Linked DNA regions of Homo sapiens: region 2 is linked to region 1. The links are contacts of gene promoters, found by promoter capture Hi-C in human tissues and cell types (Jung and others, 2019). All regions are on one chromosome and are shown on one strand. The core of a region is centred on a gene start or on the middle of the fragment in contact, and the rest is flanking DNA. Distances in the headings are between cores, read along the strand shown. Region 1 holds the start of OR2B2 (olfactory receptor family 2 subfamily B member 2). Region 2 has its middle 5.2 kb from the start of OR2B6.

Evidence for each region. The method cuts DNA at HindIII sites, captures the fragments that hold promoters and counts their contacts. A contact is called where the count stands out against the background at its distance.
Region 2: a contact is called between a fragment that was not itself captured here and the fragment with the promoter of OR2B2 in region 1, in 1 of the 25 tissues and cell types used here (pancreas).

Annotation. Positions count from the first base shown.
Region 1 is chr6:27,910,396-27,914,114 of GRCh38, forward strand. OR2B2 (olfactory receptor family 2 subfamily B member 2) reads right to left here and starts at 2,001. Exons shown (of 1, transcript NM_033057.2): 1 at 790-2,001. The coding sequence starts at 1,924. The coding sequence ends at 851. The HindIII fragment of the contact is 12,366 bases long and covers 1-3,719 here.
Region 2 is chr6:27,950,166-27,953,884 of GRCh38, forward strand. No RefSeq gene overlaps it. Among named protein-coding and RNA genes, the nearest start is that of OR2B6, 5.2 kb to the right of the region's middle. The HindIII fragment of the contact is 4,792 bases long and covers 1-3,719 here.

The sequences.
Region 1 (3,719 bases), core at 751-3,250:
AGATCTAAGTAAAACTGGGGAGTGCAGAATTGTTGTGGATTTTAGTATTGTGTTGATGTGCGAATAGTGTTAAAATTTAAGCTAGGGCTGTTAAACTTATAGAGAAAATTAAGACAAGGTTTTGGATACTTCTGTTAGATCTACAATTGTCTGAAAAATAATTTGTGCCATGGAGTTTGTGTGTGTGTGTGTGTGTGTGTGTGTGTGTGTAAGGATGAGGACATGTGTATATGTATCAAAATGTTTTGTTTCTGGCTTTTATTCTGGTTTCAGAGAAGTCTAAGTCTCTTCCCGATGTATACAGACTAGTGCTAAGATGTTTGAGACCTTAAAGATTTCAAGGCTATGCTATTTTGAGAGTTCATAAAAGATCAGTTCTTAAGACTTGTGCAATGAATATATTTAGGCAGTAGAAAACAGATATAGTTCTCTGTCGACATTTTATTTGAAGATCACTATAATAGTTTTTCTAAGAATAGTAATAATAAAGCAATTTGGAGAGAATTAAATTATAAGCTATGTAAAATTGAAGTCTTTAAAAGGCCTATAATTTGAGAATTCCTTTTTTTTTTATTAACACCCTTGCAAGCAACCTCTCAAAAGCTCCCTTTACATCTTTGTTTCTATGTGTGTGTGTGTATGTATGTATGTGTGTGTGCGTGTGTGTATTACTGAAGAGATGATTTCTGGATCAGAAAGGTCTAGTTTACACTGAATTGTACAAACATTGATGTAAAGTGTGACAACCCTTGAAAATGTTGTGATTACAGTTTTTGGTGCATTGGAAGGCCAATTCTGGGGGCTTGTTCAATGAAAATGTTTAGGCAACAGAAACAAATATAGCTTTTTGTCAAGGAAATTTTCTTTGAGGGAGATTACAATAGTTTTCTATAGTAATGACAAAAATAGGACAACTTGCGGAGAAGTTAGTAAGGTAAGTAAGCACTGTGTCTTTAGCAAAGCTTATCATTTGCATATTTCTTATTTCTTGATTAAGAAGACTCTTTGCAACCAACCTTTTAAAGGCTTCCTTTACCTCTTTGTTCCTAAGTGTATATATAAGGGGATTCAGCATGGGTGCAATGATTCCACAGAAGAGAGAAACCATCTTTCCCCGGTCTTTGGAGCTGGGTGAAGGTGGTTGCAGGTACATGGAGATAGCTGTACCATAAAAAAGTGACACCACAATTAGATGGGAGCCACATGTCCCAAATGCCTTTCGTTGACCTTCAGCAGACTGGATTCTCAACACTGCTTGGACAATAAAAGCATACGATATAAGGATGAGTGTCACGGGTATTAGAAGGAATAGCACACTGATGAAGAATAGTTCAGCCTCATTTGCTGTTGTGTCAACACAGGACAACTTGAGCAGAGCAGGGACTTCACAGAAGAAGTGATCCACTTCTTTGTGACCACACAGTGGCATCTTAAGTGTCCAGGTGGACTGTAATACTGAATTGCTAAAGCCACTAATCCAGGATGCAGCTGCCAACTGGAAGCAGAGCCTCTGGTGCATGATAATTGAGTAATGGAGAGGCCGACAAATAGCTACAAACCTATCAAAGCACATGACGGCCAGGAGAAGACATTCTGTGGAACCCAAGGCCAGGAAAATGAAAAGCTGGGCCACACAGCCACCATAACTGATTACTTTCCTGGTGTTGCATATGTTTACCAGCATTTGTGGAACTGTACTTGTGGTATAGCAAAGGTCCAGGAGTGAGAGATTGCTAAGAAAAAAGTACATAGGGGTGTGGAGTTTGAAATCCACATGTGACACAAGAATTATTGTCAGATTGCCAAAGATTGTCAAGATATAGGAAAACAGAAACATCACAAAGGGTGGAATCTCTAGCCATGGTTGATCTGAGAAAACTAACAGAATGAACTCCTGTGGGACACTCTTATTTACCCAATTCATGTTAAATGGTTCAACTCTTCGTTCTCTGAAATATAAGAAGTCAGGAAGTTAACAACACACTTCCTGATTTTGTCAGCTATAATCATTTTGCTATCAATTTACATAAAATTACAGACTGATCCAATTAATAATGTGAAAAAAGTATTGATAAAAATATAAATATTTATCCATCCAAGTATTTAAAAAGTGTTTATATATCTGTAACAGCATATTAGCAAATTGAATCGAATTTCAAGAATCTTTTTTTTTTTTTTTTTTTTTTTTTTTGAGGCAGAGTTTCACTCTTTTGCCCAGGCTGGAGTGCAATGGCGCCATCTCGGCTCACCGCAACCTCCGCCTCCCAGGTTCAAGCAATTCTCCTGCCTCAGCCTCCCCAGTAGGTGGGATCACAGGCATGTGCCACCACCCCGACTAATTTTGTATTTTTAGTAGCGATGGGGTTTCTCCACGTTGGTCAGGTTGGTCTCAAACCCCAACCTCAGGTGATCTGCCCACCTCAGCCTCCCAAAGTGCTGGGATTACAGGCGTGAGCCACTGTGCCCAGCCTAATTTCAAAAATCTTAAGCCATATTTTCAGTTTCCAAATTCACATAATGTATCCTTTGATATTTTACTGTTTGTAAATGTATTTTTCTCATTCTTCCTACCTAGATATCTACTGTGAGGTAGATGTAGATACAGTTTCCTGTCATTTGAATTCATTCTAATTTCTCTTCAAGGCCAGCGAGATTCCCTGATTGTAGAAATCAGTTAACATTAGTTAAAGCCACCTCCCATTATTCCCCTTCCCTCAAAAAAGCCATGTAGACAGTATCTAGTAAGTTATCAGACACAATTTAAGGAGACATATCCTTTTCGTTCTAGAAGCTCATAGAATTTGTATAGATTCCTTAGTAATATGATATTTGAAGGTGACAGGCTGGTCTCATATCCCTACCCTCTCTAATTAGTTACATTCATTATATTGGAATGCTTCTAACCCTTTGATCTCCACAATTCTCATTTGTAAAATGAAGATGATACAGTGGTTCCCCCTTTATCCATGGGGGATACATTCCAAGACCACCAGTGGATAGAAACCTGAAACTGTGGGTAGTACCAAACCCTATATATACTATGTTTTTTAATACATACACAACTATAACGTTTAATTTATAAATTAGGCACAGTAAGAGATTAAGAACAATAATTAATAAAATGCAGCAAGTATAACAGCTCCAGACCCCCATTTATTGTAATACATGTTATGTGAATGTGGTGTCCCTCTCTTTTTTTCTCTTCAAAACACCTTATTCTAGTGTACTCACCCCTCTGTGTTCTGACGATCTGATAACCGAGATGGCTACTCAGTGACTAACAGGCAGGTGGATGCTTTAAATCAAGCTTGTCCAACCTGAGGCCCACGGGCTGCATGCAGCCCAGGATGGCTTTGAACGCAGCCCAGGATGGCTTTGAACGTGGCCTAACACAAATTTGTAAACTTTCTTAAAACATCATGACATTCACTGATGATTAAAAAAAAACTCATCAGCTATTGTTAGTGTTGCTGTATTTTATGTGAGACCCAAGACAATTCTTCTTCTTCCAATGTGGCCCAGGGAAGCCAAAAGATTGGACACCCCTGCTCTAAACAGAAGGATGATTCCCATGACTGGGTGGGACAACACAAGACTTCATCAGGCTATTCAGAATGGCATGTATTTAAAACTTATGAATTGTTGACTTCTGTAATTTTCCTTTTAATATTTGCAGACCATGGTTGACTGTGGGTAACTGAAATTGTGCAAAGCAAAAC
Region 2 (3,719 bases), core at 511-3,010, 40 kb after region 1:
AATTAAACTTAAACCAAAATGTAGATTCATAGTATATCTAGGCTTTCTAACAAATTATGTTAATTTTGGAAAGTTTGTTTAACCTCTCTAAGCCTCCATTTCCACATTAAAAAAATAAAGATAAAGTGTAGCAATTTTATAGGACATTGTAAGCATAGTAAACATTGATACTATTATTATTAAACTACAGATTCTTCCCTGTTTCCAGTCCCTTTGATAACTGAGCATTATTTCTTAATTTTTCACTTTAAGGACTACTGAATTTTTTTAGTTTATTTACCTTGGTTCACTCTGCAAACTAAAGATTTGTCTTTATTTTCTTATTTGTTTAGCCCTCTGTTTTTTTTTCTTTAAATACTATTGCCTTTATTTAAATTATCTATTGTAAGCATTTATGAGAAAAAAGAAAATCCAACATTATAAACATTTTCCTCTGACTAATCCCGCCCTCACGCTCACTCTTACTTTCAGAGATAAGCACTGTTATTAGTTTGGGAAGGTTTTAAATGCTATACATTATTTTTTGTGGATTACATCTTAGTCTTTTTCCCTGGTTTACTTGATGCCCCTTCCTTCTCCCTTCACAGCTATCAGCCTCTGTGCTCCAGATTGCCCACATGAAGGAGCTAACAAGTGTTCTTTATTCTTCTTCACTCTCGTATAATTCCATGCAGGCGCACAATACATACAGTTATATTGAGAGTGTTTTAGTCATTGTTTATATAATTAAGATCATGTTATTTATTCTTTTTTACATCTTCATTTTCTCACTCAGCAACATCACAGGCAAATACTTCTGGATTAGGTTAATTACTAGTCAATTTCCTATTGAGAAACTAATTTTTTCTCTACTTTGGCCACCACAAACATTGCTACAATAAAAATTATTGTTTCTACGATTTGTGTACCAGTATATTTTATTCCATAGGATAGATTTCCATGAATGCCATTGCTATGTTGATGAACAGAGTATTTTTTTCAAGATTAACTGCCCTATTTATTTCTAAAATGTCAGTGACACTTTGAATTTCTAACCATAATTTATGAGAGGTTTTTTCCTTCAGCAACATTCAGGAGTTACTGCTAGTTACATTGTTTTTTCAATCTGATAAGTGACTCATCATTACTACTTTAATATATTTGTCTGAATATTTGGGAATTTAAAATCTTATATAGATTTGCTATTCTGAGTTCACAGTATGTATATGGTCATATTATTTAGCATTTTTTCAATTGTGTTATTTGTGTTTTTCTTGGGCTTTATAAAAACTCTATTTATATTGTAGATACCAACCTTTTACATAACCACAAATATATTTTCTCATATCTACTCATCCTTGAAAGCTGAGGAAACTATATATTAGAATGTATAAAAACAAATCCTGTATAGAAAAACTATAGAAAAATATAAATCTCTTTTTAATCTTGGAAAAAAATCTAGGAAATTACATTGACCCGAAGAGCTTTTCAACTAAGGCTAGAAATTCAAAATCTATGAAAGAAAAGAAGCCTATTTGGATATATAATGAAGAAAACTACTTTATGTAAATCAAGGTAAAAATATTTCTACATCAAATTAACTGGAAGCCTATTTTATTGCATAGATACTGACCTCAGGATTTCAGAGTAAATGGACAGTTTTCTGTGGCTTGACAGAACTTGATTAGTAAAAAGGAAACGAACACTCAGTTTAATGGCACAAAATCCAGACTTTATTTGATAAAGTATTTTAGTCCCTGCTGTCGTTCCCTTTTGTCTCAGAAACAATTGAGGAGACAATCCCCAGAGAAAGGGTATCAGGGAGCAAATCTAAACTAAAATGAAGTATCACATCACAGAGATCTCCTCCTTCTCTCTTCCCATCAGATACCATGGTCAATTACCATAAACCACATGAGGGTTGTTATCTTCCCCTGTAAGCCAGAGAACACCCGACATTCAAAAATAGTTTCCTATCCCTCTCATTTATTTTGTAAACCTGGTGAGGAGAATTCTGGAAAGATCAATAAATACCTTCATACTTGGTAATATAATATCAGAAAAACATGTCTGATCATCTGTAATGCTTTGTACCTATTCTCATATTTTCTAAATTAATCCTGAATGGATATCTTATAATTTGCCACTTACAGCGTGAAACAAGGGAAAAATGAACAAACTTCACCATATCAGTTTTTACAATTAATAGCTTACGAAGAGGTTATTGAATCCACATGCCTCCAGTTCATCCTATTTGAATTTAAAGCTTCTTGGACACACAAATCATCCTATCACTAATGCTTAAAATAGAGGTATGTAGAACACATTTAAGAAATTTATTATATAAAACCTGCTAAAATTTGGGTGTTTTGAGCACTTATGGACGTTTATGATTATCTCACTCAGAAAAATTTGACTAAGGCTCCAGTTTCTTAATTCCATTTATTTGTTTTATACTGCTATTTGCAATGTTTTGTTATCTCTACTGGAAATTAAAACTTGAGAGCAGAGCAGTCTTAGATTTGAACCTTCTGTCTGCCTATGAAAATAATCTAGCCTATGAAAATAATCTCTCTGAACCTCTAAATTCAGATTTCTACCTGAATAATTAACCTTTTGTGAAACAGACAAAAAATATTGGCAAACTTTTCATCTATTCTAAGCCAAATTGCACTGTTGTGTGAAAAATTACTCCTAGTATTTATCCTTATACTCCAGCAGGAACATGGGGGTTCACTGTAGTATATTTAAAGCTTTTTATACATTCTCAGAGGTATGATAATTATAGAAAACTTAGAAGCAAACAATTTTTATGTCGAATGGAAAACAGAAAACTCTGGTGTTACCATAGATTAAACTGCTTCCCAAAGCCATTGAGTAACTTGCCCAGTAGTGAAGTGACTTAGTAGCAGCATCTAAACTACAGCTGTTGTCATATTTCTTATCTCAATGCTCACTGCATAGTAAACAGCTTAAAATAAAGTTTTCAGGACTTTGTTGAACCTCGTCATTCAGAATCCTCTGTCAGCCATATACTGAATAACTTCAGTATGTAGCTGATGGATGCAATCCCAACTAATATACAAGCAAACGGGTGGTGATTGTATTTATTCAGACAATAAAATTGAAATATCCTGAGTTATGTATAGATAAAAGTTCTAAAGGTCCAAATAACCCTTTTCAACTGTTGCTTTTTACAGTACTCAATTTTGTTTTTGCTTTGTTTGTTATGTTTTGTTTTGAGACAGGGTCTCTGTTGCCCAGGCTGGAGTGCAGTGGTGCGATCATGTCTCACTGCAGCCTCAACCTCCTGGGCTCAAACAATCCTCCCACATCAGCCTCCTGAGTAGCTGAAACTACAGGCGCATGCCACCACACTCAGCTAATTTTGTATTTTTGGTAGAGACAGGGTTTTGCCATGTTGCCCAGGCTGGACTGGACTCAAGCGATCTGCCTCAGCTTCCCAAAAATGCTGGGAATTCCCAGACTCAAGCAATCAGCCCCAGCTTCCCGCTGGGATTACAGGCAGGAGCCACTGTGCCTGGCCCAATACTCACTTTTTCTTACCTGCAGTTGTAAGATAGTTGCTATGCAATCTGATCCCTTTTGTCTCACATTATGAAAATATGTTCCTATGTTGACCAAAGGAAAGCTCGTTAACTCAAAATGAGAATGATATCCTCTGAAGATGCTGTAAACAGAATTCTATTCAGGACCAGAGAAATAGATTGTGTAGCCTT